Regions from separate parts of the Homo sapiens genome. Here region 1 is linked to region 2. The links are contacts of gene promoters, found by promoter capture Hi-C in blood cells and fetal thymus (Javierre and others, 2016). All regions are on one chromosome and are shown on one strand. The core of a region is centred on a gene start or on the middle of the fragment in contact, and the rest is flanking DNA. Distances in the headings are between cores, read along the strand shown. Region 1 has its middle 24 kb from the start of IL36G. Region 2 holds the start of IL36B (interleukin 36 beta).

Evidence for each region. Contacts are between HindIII fragments. The CHiCAGO score rates a contact against its expected background, and 5 or more counts as called.
Region 1: a fragment that was not itself captured here is called in contact with the fragment with the promoter of IL36B in region 2 in 1 of 17 cell types (M2 macrophages); the score reaches 5.6 in M2 macrophages.

Annotation. Positions count from the first base shown.
Region 1 is chr2:112,950,512-112,956,825 of GRCh38, reverse strand. No RefSeq gene overlaps it. Among named protein-coding and RNA genes, the nearest start is that of IL36G, 24 kb to the left of the region's middle. The HindIII fragment of the contact is 1,729 bases long and covers 774-2,502 here.
Region 2 is chr2:113,050,718-113,057,813 of GRCh38, reverse strand. IL36B (interleukin 36 beta) reads left to right here and starts at 4,947. Exons shown (of 5, transcript NM_173178.3): 1 at 4,947-4,997. The HindIII fragment of the contact is 9,836 bases long and covers 1-7,096 here.

The DNA of each region.
Region 1 (6,314 bases), core at 389-2,888, 98 kb after region 2:
CTGGCCAATGGACTTCAAAACTGAGGAGGATCATTAAATTTAAATGTTCACCGCTGCATGAAATCTCCCTGGGTCCTGCCCTCCCTTCCCCACCCTCCTCCACTTGGGCCGGGGCACAGCAGTGATTCTCTCACCTCTCAGAGTGAGCCAGTGTTGGCTGCATTGAAGGCTCCAGATATGCAAACAGGGCAGATATTCCTGGACCAGGGTGCACAGAGTGAGGCTCCAACGCACCCTATTAACTGCATGAAGGATGAATGAGCCTCTGGTATGGGCTGGGACAGAGAAGAGGATTCAAGGGGCCCAGGAGGGTTTGGGTGGAACCTACCAGGAGCGGCAGTACAGACTCCTTGGGAAGGTGGCCAGGATTTAGCCACATTCACCAATAGGATAATCTGGAGAATTTCCTAGCTTGAGTTTCTGGGAGAAAGCAGATTTCTGGATTATCTGGTGACAGGTAACAGGGCCGAGTTCATCCACAGCCACCTGCAGTGTTAGCACCTTAAGCTGAGTTCCTTGCACCAGGATGCTGTCACGCCCAGTCAGTGTGAGACGGTTCTTGGCTGAAGGACTGAAAAGCTTGGGTAAGTGACTTCACCTAAGCCTCTATCTCTTGCTCCCGTAAGTCAGGGCTCATTGTGGCTCCTTGCAGGCTTGACTTCAGGGTTAACAGAGAAAATGAAGGTACAAGTGCCTTGTGAACTCTGAAACTCCAAACCAGTCATTCTCAAAGTGCCGTCCACCAGTCTAGCACATCAGCATCACTGGAAGCTTGTTTGAAATGTAAATTATCAGGTCCTCCAGAGCTATGTATGAATTAGAAACTCTGGGAATGGGGCCCTGCAATCTATTTCAACAGGTCCTCCAGGTGATTCTGATGCAAGTTAAAGCCTGAGAAACTCTGTCCTATACAAATGGATGTCAACTCAAGCTGCTCTTCAGAATCACCTATAGCACTTGTTCACCCGAATCCCTGAGAATGGAGCTTCAGGACTGCTATTTCTCAAAGTTTGCCTGGTGATCCTGAGATGGGGTTTGGGGGACAGAGATCCAAGGTGCTACCAGGTGTGAGGAATTGTTAGAAGGCAAACCTGGCTGTCATCTAGGGTGCTTAAAGGGTACAGATCCTAGGATTCTGCCTCTTACAGCTGAATCAGACTTTCCTAGAATGGGATTGCTGTCCAATGGCATGCCTCCTGGGTGACTCTGATGTATAGCCTGGGCTGGGAACCACCAGAGGATTATCTTCCATTGACCAAGCTGACAAACTCGCTTAAGGCTCTGAGTTTCACACTTGATTTTCTAGCCCCTGTCCTTCCATGGATCACCTGCCCCCTTCCCTCCTAATCAGGAGCACAGTCAGTGGATGCACTAATGTGGCCTCTCCTTGGCTGCAGGGAACAGGTGGAAATGTGGCCATAGGTGTGCAGGGCTGCCTGCCATGTATTAATAGCTACAGATTTGAAAGATCCAAGGACAAGAGACTAGAAAAAAATTTAAAACAGCCAAGCATTGGCCCAGTAATGGCATTTCAGAAATCCACCAAAATATTAAGATGCTTTTTGAAAAATATCCAGAGCACTCATGTAAAAGTGCTTAATTATTAATAAAAGCTGACATGTGTTGGGTACTTCCTGTGGGTCTGGCACTAGGCTAATTATGTTTTTAGGAGTTGACTCAAATGCTCCCTGTCATAATTATGTGAAGAGATATAATTATTAGCTCCATGGTACAGATTAAGGAGAGGTTACATAAATAAAAAGGAATGATACTCAAATTAGTAACCAGAGCCCATGCTCTTAAACACTATGCTATTATTTGTGGACTCTTACATAGGTGGCAAAAGTCAAAGGCTAGATTGACTTCTGTCCACTTCCAGCCAAGATGAAGTACAAGATTCAGATACACCCTTCCGCATTAAACAACTTAGGAATCAGACAAAATATACAAAGCATTGTTTGTTACACATTGGATAACAGACAGCACTAGATAGTCGTGTCTGAGAAAAGCGGTGAAATGAGCTGAGTCTTAGAATTGCCCCAGTTTACTAAGGGGCATAGTAAGGGCATAGCTGCAGCACAAAGAAGCAGAACCCAACAGAGACTGGCGTTCACCTGAGTTGAGAAAACCAAGTTGAAAATTTAGGAACACTAACACAGATATGTAGGCAAGAGTATCAGAGAGGAGACAGTTGTAGGGAAAAAGAGAGCTTTACAGAGAGACAGCGAGAGCTCCAGAGACCCGCAGAAGATTGCCCTGACGTCACTAGCTGAGTACCGATCAGTGCATACATGTAAGGATATTACTCAATATGTGGAAAAGAACAGAAGGAATGATGTCCAAAGCTCACCCAAAGACAGGAATCATTTATGTTTCCACCAGCCAGAGTGGAACAACCTTGTAACGCATATGGAGTACTCAAACGAATATTTCCTCAATAATAAGTTCAAATTAACTGAGACTAAAGCCTGCCCGCTTTGTCTGGACATGCCTAACAAAGCTTTGAGGGAAGCCTCAAAAGAATGAAACCGTGTCCAAGTAATTTAACTGTGTCCCAGAAAAAAATTCAAGAACATTTAAATAAATATTAAAATATGATCAAACCCAGCAAGGTTAAATTCAAAATGTCTGGCATCCATTAAAAAATTACCAGCCTTGAAAATTGGCGGGAAAATATTATTCATAATGAAAAGAAAAAGCAATCAACAGAAACAGGCCTAGAAAGTATACATATGATAAAATTAGCAGACATTAAATGGTTATGATTAATTTATTTTATATGTTAAAGAAGGTAGAGAAGAGCATAAGCACATTAAAGAGAGACAGGAAAGTCCCAGTACTCACACAGGGCCAGGAGCAGTTTTCACCAGTCAGGTGGGAAAACTTCATATTTCATGGAGCATTGGTAGAGTACACAGTGTCTTGCCTTAGTAGAGGGATAAATGCTGTTCTGTTCCCGCCTAACCCATCTTGAAAGAAAATCTGAAAGGATCAAACTGTATTCAAGTAACCTAATCACATCCCAGCACACAGCTCGACTAGTTATAAAAACACAAAATATTAATATCTAGAAACACAAAAATAATATCTAGCACCCAACAAGGTAAAATTCACAATGTCTAGCATTCAATTGAAATTTTCTAGGCCATCAAAGAAGCAGTAAAATATGACCTATAAGGCCGGGCACATTGGCTCATGCCTGTAATCCCAGCACTCTGGGAGGCCAAGGTGGGTGGCTCACCCGGAGGTCAGGAGTTCAAGACCAGCCTGGTCAACATGGTGAGACCTCATCTCTACTAAAAATATAAAAATTAGCCCAGCATGGTGGTGGGCGCCTGTAATCCCAGCTACTCAGGAGGTTGAGGCAGGAGAATTGCTTGAACCTGGGAGAAGGAGACCGCAGTGAGCCAAGATCGCACCATTGCACTTCAGCCTGGGCAACAAGAGCAAAACTCCATCTCAAAAAAATACATATATATATATGACCCATAAAAAGGAGATAAATCAACACTTCAGAACTGACCCAAACTTGCAAAGATACTATAATTAACAGAAAAGGACAGTTTACTAAGTACTCCGTATGTTCAACAAGTGAAAGATTAAACATATTAAGTAGAGATGTAGAAGATATAAGAAGATCCAAAATGAACTTTTAGAGTTGAAAACTACAATATTTAAGATAAAAATACACTAGGTGGGATTAAAAGTAGATTACACATTGCATAAGATAAAAAAAAATGAGCCTGAATACAGCACAGTATAAACTATCTTAAACAAAAACACAGAGAGAAAAAATAACTTTAGAGACTTAGCTCTTATCCTCTATTTGTTTCTAAACAGAGGATAAGGGGCAGAAAAAATGTTTGAAGAAATCATGATTTTTAAATTTCCAACTGAGATAGGAATAGCACTGGGTAGTCACAGGAGGCTGGAAAGACCCAAACAGCAGTTAAAACAGGAACTAGGCAAAGAAACCAAAGGATAACAGTAAACCTAAACTAAGGGAGAGAAAACAGCCAAAATGCTGATCCAGGAGACATGTCCATGACCCTTGCGCACATCCAAACAAAGGAGAAAGGGGGTGATAACTCGGAGGTCCCTATAATCCTGTCCTTTTCCAGAATACCTTATGACTATTTCACTTCCTAACTAAAGAAACGCTCATAAAACTAGAAACCAAAATTCTCTTGTGTGTGATTCATTCTTACAAGCATGCCCTTCTCTCTTAAGAGAGAGCACTTCTATTGCAAATAATGCTGCAATGAACATACGGGTGCATGTATCTTTGTAATAGAATGATTTCTATTTTGGGGGGTATGTACCCAGCAATAGGATTGCTGGGTCAAATGGTATTTCTGGTTCTAGATCTTCGAGATCTTCCACACCGTCTTCCACAATGGTTGAACTAATTCACATTCCTACCAACAGTGTGAAAGCATTCCTATTTCTCTGCAACCTCGCCAGCACCTGTTATTTCTTGACTTTTTAATAATCGTCATTCTGACTAGCATGAGAGACAGTATCTCGTTGAGGATTTGATGTGCATTTTGCTAATGATCAGTGATGTTGAGCTTTTTTTCATATGTTTTTTGGCTGCAAGAATGTCTTCTTTTGAGAAGTGTCTGTTCATGTCCTTTGCCCACTTTTTAATGGGGGTTTGTTTTTTCTTGTAAATTTGTTTAAGCTCCTTATAGACTCACAATAACAAAGACATGGGATCAACCTAAATGTCCATCAATGATATAACGGATAAAGAAAATGTGGTACATATATACCATGGAATAGTATGCAGCCATAAAAAAGAATGGGATCATATCCTTTGAAGGGACATGGATGAGCTGGAAGCCATGATCCTCAGCAAACTAATGCAAGAACAGAAAACCAAATGTTGCATGCTCTCACTTATAAGTGGGAGCTGAACACTGAGAACACAGGGACACAGAGAGGGGAACAACACACATTTGGGGCCTGTCAGGGGTGAGGTGGGGGAGGGAGAGCATTAGGAAAAATAGCTAATGCATGCTGGGCTTAATACCTAGGTGATGGGTTGACAGGTGCAGCAAATCACTGTGGCACACATTTACCTATGTAACAAACCTGCACATCCTGCACACGTACCCCAGGACTTCAAAATAAAGAGAGACAATACTTCTCCCTTAAGTGTCTACTGTTGCTTTGCAATAAAAACTTCCTGCCTTTCACTTCACTCTGACTTGTCCCTGAATTCTTTCTCGTGATGGTGTCAAGAACGTGGACACTGGCTGGGGCTGGAGACTCACCAGCATCCGGAGACCCTCCTGAGCCCTCCAGCAATACAACTTTGACACAAACTATGAAATCACAGATCCAAGAAGCTCAAAGAACCCAAGCACAGGAAACATGATGAAACTACATGAAGGAACATCAGAATTGAATTGTTCAAAATCAGTGATAAAGAGTAAATCTTAAAAGCAACCAGAACAAAATATCCATCATATACGCAGAAATAAAGATAAGTATGACAGCAGATTTACAAATAGAAAAAAAAACAAGTGCAGCAACAGAAACAAACTATCAATCCATAATTCTATACCTAGTGAAAATTTCTTTCAAAACAAAGGTGAAATAAAAAAATTATTTTCAGGAATACAAAAGCGAAAAAATTAATCACTAGCATTCATCACTGCAAGAAATGTTAAAGGAAGTCCTTTAGGCAGAAAGAAAATGATACAAGGTGAATATTTGGATCCCTGCAAGGAACTAAAAAGATCCAGAACTGATAACTTAATGGGTAAACATGTAATTTTCATCAACAAGTGAATGAATAAACAAATCATGATATATCCATATGATAGACTACTACTTAGAATACAAAAGAAGAACTACTTATGCATGTGATAACATGAATGATATTCAAAATTATTATTGAGTGAAAGACACCAGATCAAAACAAAGTACATACTGTATGATTCTGTTTATATAAAACTCTATAAATTGCATGCTCTTCTATAGTGACAGAAAGAAGATCAGTGGCTGCCTGCAGACAGGAAGAGATTACAAACGGAAATGAGAATTCCTTAAGAGATGATGGACATGCTCATTACCCATCATATGTATACAGCCATAATGGTTTTACAGATACATATATATGTACACGCCAACATAAATATAAGTTATCAAATTACAGTAAGTTCTGACTTAATGTCACTAGGTTCCTGGAAACTTTGACTTTAAGCAAAATGATGTACAGTGAAACCAATTTTACCATAGGCTAATTGATATAAAGATGAGTTAGGTTTTTTGTTTTTTTTTTTTTTGAGATGAAGTCTCGCTCT
Region 2 (7,096 bases), core at 3,698-6,197:
TCCTACAAGTGTTCAAGAATAAATAAAATATCAAGTTGTTCAAAACACAGAAAATAATCTACGATTTTCATAATGCCACTAATATGATAGACACTTTTCAGAAAAATAAAATTAATGTAGAAACTGCCTTGTACAAAATTATTAAATTACAAATTGACCAAATGGAATGACAGTAGAAATAAGATGAAATGAGACAAGCCTGGCCAACGTGGCAAAACCCCATCTCTACTGAAAACACAAAAATTAGCCGGGTTGGTGGTGCACATTTGTAATCCAAGCTACTCAGGAGGCTGAGGTGTGAGAATTGCTTGAACCTGGGAGGTGGAGGTTGCAGTGAGCCAAGATTGAGCCACTGTACTCCAGCCTGGATGACAGAGAGAGCTAGACTCTGCCTCAATAAATAAATAAATAATAAGTAAAATGAAACTATGACTGTGTATACTGTCAATATTATATGAAAACATTATCAAACAGGCCTCACCAACAATAAGTTCTCTCTGGACCTATCCCTTTGCTTGACTTACTAATTAGGTCTCAGACTCTGTGAAATTAGCCATGAACTAAGAGAACATTGATAAATTACACATTATTCCTGTCTGATAGAAAAGATAACTCCAAAGGGTGCAGTTTTATTGCCTCACAAGTCATAAAGCTGTCTTTAAAACGTAACTTAGCCAACCTATTTCAGCCTTTATTTCTTGACTGACGGTATAAGCCTCCATTCCCTGAATTATCTTTTGATAATCAGCTTTATAATCTTGCTGATTCCCTCACTTATGAAAAATAGTAAATCTTTGACACATGCTCACTATATGTGTGTATGAGAGTCAAGTTTTGAACTTCTGAAAAATAAACTTTGGCACTACCTAAAGACAATGCTGCCAATTCGCAAACCATGTGTGGCTGTTTTAAAATATGTCCATAAATTCTTGGAAACTTCATCTTTAAGAAGGTGATATGGTTTGGCTCTGTTCCCACCCAAATTTCATCTTGAATTGTAGCTTCTATAATTCCCACGTGTCATGGAAGGAACCCAGTGGGAGGTAATTGAATCATGGGGGCAGGTCTTTCTTGTGCTGGTCTCATGATAGTGAATAAGTCTCACAAGATCTGATGGTTTTATACAGGGGAATTTCCCCACACAAGCTCTCCTGCCTGCCACTATGTAAGACATGACTTTGCTCTTCTTTCATCATCTTCCACCATGATTGTGAGGCCTCCCCAGCCATGTGGAACTCTAAGTCAATTCAACCTCTTTCCTTTATAAATTACACAGTCTTGGTTATGTTGTTATTAGCAGCATGAGAACAGACTGATATAGTAAATTGATACTGGGAGTGGGGCGCTATGTTACATGATGAACATGGCAGCATCATAAAAGGCATTGCAATTTCCTCCTAGCTCTTAGATCACTCACCTGGACAAAGCCAGCCACTATGTGATAAGGACACTCAAGCAGCCCTATGGAGAGGCCCACGTGGTGAGAAACTATTTTTTCCTGCCAACAGTCTGTGAATGCACAATCTTAGAAGCAGATCCTCTAGCCCCAGTCAAGCCTTCAGATGACTGCAACCCTGGCTGACATCTTTCCTGTAACCTAATGAGACACCCTGAGCCAAACCCTCCAGCCAAGCCAGTTTTCTCATTCCTGACTCTCAGCCTTTGTTAAATAATAATTTTTTCTTGTTTTAAGCTGCTAACTTTGCTGATACTTTGTTACACAACAATTGGTAACTAACACACCTTGACATCACTATTGGCATTTCAGCACTTTAACACTTTGCCTGTTACCCAGCAATTTGGAACTGGGTAAAAGGCAGAGGTTGGAACAGTTTGGAGGGCTCAGAAGAAGATAGGAGGATGTGGGAAAGTTTGCAACTTCCTGGAGACTCACTGAATAGCTTTGACCAAAATGCTGATAGTGATATGGACAATAAGGTCCAGGCTGAGGTGGTCTCAGATGGAGATGAGGAACTTGTTGGGAACTGAAGCAAAGGTGACTCTTGTTATGCTTTAGCAAAGAGACTGGCAGCATTTTGCCCCTGACCTAGAAATCTGTGGAACTTTGAACTTGAAAGAGATGATTTAGGGCATCTGGCAAAAGAAATTTCTAAGCAGCAAAGTATTCAAGAGGTGATTTGGGTGCTGATAACATTCAGTTTTATGTATTCACAAATATATGGTTTGGAATTGGAACCTACATTTAAAAGGGAAGCAGAGCATAAAAGTTTGGAAAACATGCAGCATGAAGATGAGATAAGAAAAACCTATTTTCTGAAGAGAAATTCGAGCTGGCTGCAGAAATTTGCATAAGGAAAGAGGAGCCAAATGTTTTTCACCAAGAAAATGGGGAAAGTGTCTCCAGGGCATATCAGAGGTCTTCACAGAAGCCCCTCCCATCACAGACCTGGAGGTCCAGGAGGAAAAAATGGTTTCATGGGCCAGACCCAGGGCCTGGCAGCTTTGTGTAGTCTCAGGACTTGGGATGACTTGCATCCCAGCCACTCCAGCTTTGGCTAAAGAGGGCAAAGGTACAGCTTGGGTCATGGCTTTAGAGGGTGTAAATCCCAACCCTTGGCAGCTTCCATGTGGTGTTGAGCCTGTGGGTGCACAAAAGTGAAGAACTGAGGTTTGGGAGCCTCCGCCTAGATTTCATAGGATGTTTGGAAATGTCTAAATGTCCAAGCAGAGGTGTGCTGCATGGGCATAGCCCTCATGGAGAACCTCTGCTAGGGCAGTGCAGAAGGGAAATGTGGGGTGGGAGCCCCCACACAATGTCCCCACTGGGGCATTGTCTAGTGGAACTGTGAGAAGAGGGCCACTGTCCTCCAGATCCCAGAATGGTAGATCCACCAACAGCTTATGCTGTGTGCCTGGAAAAGCCACAGACAGTGTCAGCCCATGAAAGCAGCCAGGAGGAGGGTTGTACCCTGCAAAGTCACAGGAGTGGAGCTTCCAAAGACTATGGGAACCCACCTCTTGCATAAGCATGACCTGGATGTGAGACAGAGACTCAAAGGAGGTAATTTTGAAGCGTTAAGATTTGACTGCCCCGCTGGATTTTGAACTTGCATGGGGCCTGTAGCCCCTTTGTTTTGGCCAATTTCTCCCATTTGGAATAGCTGTACTTACCAAATGCCTGTACTCCTATTGTATTTAGGAAGTAACTAACTTGCTTTTGATTTTACAGCTCATAGGCAGAAGAGACTTGCCTTGTCTCAGATGAGACTTTGGACTGTGGAATTTTGAGTTAATGCTGAAATGCGTTAAGACCCTGGGGGACTGTTGGGAAGGCATGATTGGTTTTGAAATGTGAGGACATGTGATTTGCGAGGAGCCAGGGGTGGAATGATATAGTTTGGCTGTGTCCCCACCCAAAGCTCATCTTGAGTTGTTGCTCCCATAATTCCCATATGTCATGGAAGGGACCCAGTGGGAGGTAACTGAATCATCAGGGCAGGTCTTTCCTGTGCTATTCTCATTCTAGTGAATAAGTCTCATGAGACCTGATGGTTTTATAAAGGGGCATTCCCCTACACAAGCTCTCTTCCCTCCTGCCATGTAAGATGTGACTTTGCTCTTCCTTCATCTTCCATCATGATTGTGATGCCACCTCAGCCATGTGGAACTGTGAGTCAATTCAATCTCTTTCCTTTACAAATTACTCAGTCTCAGGTATGTCTTTATTAGCAGTGTGAGAACAGACTGATACAGAGAGGAAGTTTAACTGCCCTTCTCTTGAGTATGGACTGGACTTAGTGACTTTTTTCTAATGAGTATGTTACATGGTGAACATGGCAGCATGTCACTTCTGAGACCAGGTCATAAAAGGCATTGCAGTTTCCTCCTTGCTCTTAGAACACTCACCTGGATGAAGCCAGCTGCCATCTAATAAGGATATTCAAGCACCCCTATATAGAAGCCCACATGGTGAGAAACTGTGGTTTCCTGCCAATGGTCTGAGTGAGCAATCTTACAAACAGATCCTTCAGTCCCAGTCAAGCCTTCAGATGACTGAAACCTTGGCTGACATCTTTCCTACAACCTAATCAGACACCCTGAGCCGAACCCTCCAGCCAAGCCAGTTTTCTTATTCCCGACTCTGTCTTTGTTAAATAATTTTTTTGTTTGTTTTAGGTCGCTAGGTTTGCTGTTACACAGCAATTAGTAACTAATACAGTTTGACATCACTATTGGGAAGTTTCTACTCCTGTTGTTTTTTCATTTTCCACTGTCTTCGGTGGGTATGCTCTCTTCTCAGCAAACATCTCAGTTCTTCATGGGCTTTATATGCCCTGGAAAGTGTCACAGCCTGCAGAGAAGCAATGTTCCCTGTGGTGACTTATCCTCACCTTTGTGAGAATGGCAATAACCCTGGAGGTAGATGTGGCCTCTGCTCTTGCTGTAGAGATGACTTAGGGCAGGTGTATTCACCTATATGAGAATGTAAGCAGAGTTTATTATGGTAAGATAGTAAATTCCTGTTAGGGAGATAAATTTAGTAATAATTAAAGTAACTGATATTCACTTGGTGCCCACTATGTCCCTAGAATTCTATAGCACTTCCCACAATGTGTTCCATGAGACTCCAATAGAGAGATAATGAGCAGCAAGTATTCCCGGCGGCTTAGGGTGGTGTGAAATCACGCTGAGAATCCTGCTTCTCCTCAGGTCCTGGTAGTTTCAGGGCCCCTCCCTAGGCCTTACTTAAAAGGCTGAGGCATCCTTGGAAGAGCAGGCAGACTCCACGGATCCCACCAGGAGAAAGGAGCATTCTGAGGTATGCTCTAGGGCACTGGTGGGACTGGAGCTCTCTCCTCATTTCAGACCCAGAATCTCCTGCTCTGTGGAAGCTGTTCTCATGCTGGGGGACTCAGTGTGGCTGCTTGACTGGATGAGACAGAGGATGTGAAGAGCCAGGTTGGCATCTAGCACAAACCCACAGACACGGGTTCCTCCCCACTCTGTCTTTCTCACCTCTCCTTCACTTTTCCTAGGTATGTAAAGAAGACATTAAGAACACGGCAAAGGCCAAATTTACATTGACTTAAATCTAAGACTGGTTCATGACCAAAAATGCATGTAGCTAGCATGGCTTTCCCAACGCAGAGAGAAAAAGGCATGGACTCAGCTCCAACAGACTGGCGTAATGAGTGCAGAATATGCTGTGAGGTTTTAAATTTGCTGACAAGAAAGGTTAACGTTTGTTACACATTCACTCTGTCAGGTACAGTGATAAAAGCAATATAGCTATTATGTTGCCTCATTCCCACATCAGTCCTCTAAGGTAAGTGCTATGCTTATTCCCATTTAACTGATAAGACAAAACGAAAATTAGAGAGGCTAAGTCACCTAAGGTCACAAAACTAGTAAGAGATGGACCTGGTATTGGTACTCTTGCAGCTTGACTTCATACTAATTCACACCCATTCCCCAATATGAAAAATAAGCTGTGTAATGCTTATAAATTCACACATTTGGAATAGAAGGCAGAGCTCGAGGCTGGGGGAATGAAGGAGTCTGCACAAAGGACCAACAGGCTTTCTAAGAAGATAATAGAAACCAGCCAGGTGCAGTGGCTCGCACCTGTAATCCCAGTACCTTGGGAGGTAGAGGCGGGCAGAACACTTGAGGCCAGGAGTTCAAGACCAGCCTGGCAAACATGAAGAAACCCCGTCTCTACTAAAAATACAAAAACTAGTTGGGCATAGTGGTGCACACCTGTAATCCCAGCTACTTGGGAGGCTGAGGCACGAGAATCACTTGAATCCCAGGAGGTGAAAGTTGCAGTGACCTGAGATCATGTCACTGCACTTCATCCTGGGCAACAGAGCAAGACTCTGTCTCAAAAAAAAAAAAAAGGAGAGAGGGAGAGAAGATAATAGAAACCAACAGAGTTGGTGCAGAGACAAAGGAGTGCCCCATAGCAGAGTGTGGCACACTTTGGGTTGGACGGAATTTATCACTCCCTGGAGTGACTTTTGGTAGCTGAGGACATCCGTGAAAGTCCTTCCTGGAGTAGGAGTGATGGTGTGCATGCACAGACACAGCCTCCAGGGAGCCGTGAGCAGAAGGGGACCTCCAGCTGCATCCAGGACTCCCTCTCCAACCCAGCCACATCAGAGGGGAAGGGTACCACTTGGCTCATAGCGCTTTCGAGAAACCCTGGATGCCAGTGAAGTCATGGGGAGGCTGTGGGCCAGGATCCACAGGGCTGCAGCTGGGTGCTGAGCCAGAGGCCAGTGGCTTTGTTGCCTGCCCTCAGCCCCGTGGCACCCTCTGCCTGGGAGGCTGGGGAAGGGCCAGGTGCACAGGCCGGGATCTGAGAGAGCGCGTGGGCAGTCCACAGGGCAGGTGAGGCTCTGAGAGAGAGTGTGGGCAGTCCACAGGGCAGGTGAGGCTCCGGTGTGTGTCACACCCACAGTTTCTGCTGACTGAGTCCCATGAACAGGGCCAGAGCCACCGGCAACTTCTGTACCCCAGATCCACATTCAGGCGCTTTCCTCGTCTGTGCCTCAGAGGCTTCCAGAGCCTGCGGACTCGCCTCCGCCGGACTGTGTAGTTTGACCATTGCTCTCCAGCAGGAAACTGGAAATAAACCCAGGGCTAGGCACTGGCTGAGCTCCATTCTCCCCGGTCCTGCGCTGGCCCCTCCGGCGGGGCCTGCCGCTCTCAGTGTGCCGGGCCAGGATCTACCGGCAGGGGGCGCTCTCCACCAGGCTAGGTCGGGAGGCCACGATGAGAGGCACGGCCTCCGATTCAAGGATCGGGAGGCCACGCTGAGAGGCACGGCCTCCGATTCAAGGATCAGGAGGCCAGGCTGAGAGGCACGGCCTCCGATTCAAGGATCGGGAGGCCACGCTGAGAGGCACGGCCTCCAATTCAAGCTCTCTTCCTCTTTTTCTGTCTCTTTCCACAAGGATCTGCAGCCCTCACCCGAGTAGCGAGCATCTAAAGCAGGACTAGACGAGGCAAGGGAGCTGCACCAGGGCTACCCCTGAGAAAGCCCCAGCTCTCCTCGGCTTTCTCAGTGATGTGTGGCTTTCGTGGGCTCCTCAAAAACAGAAACTATCTTTTTTTATTATTATTATCTGTC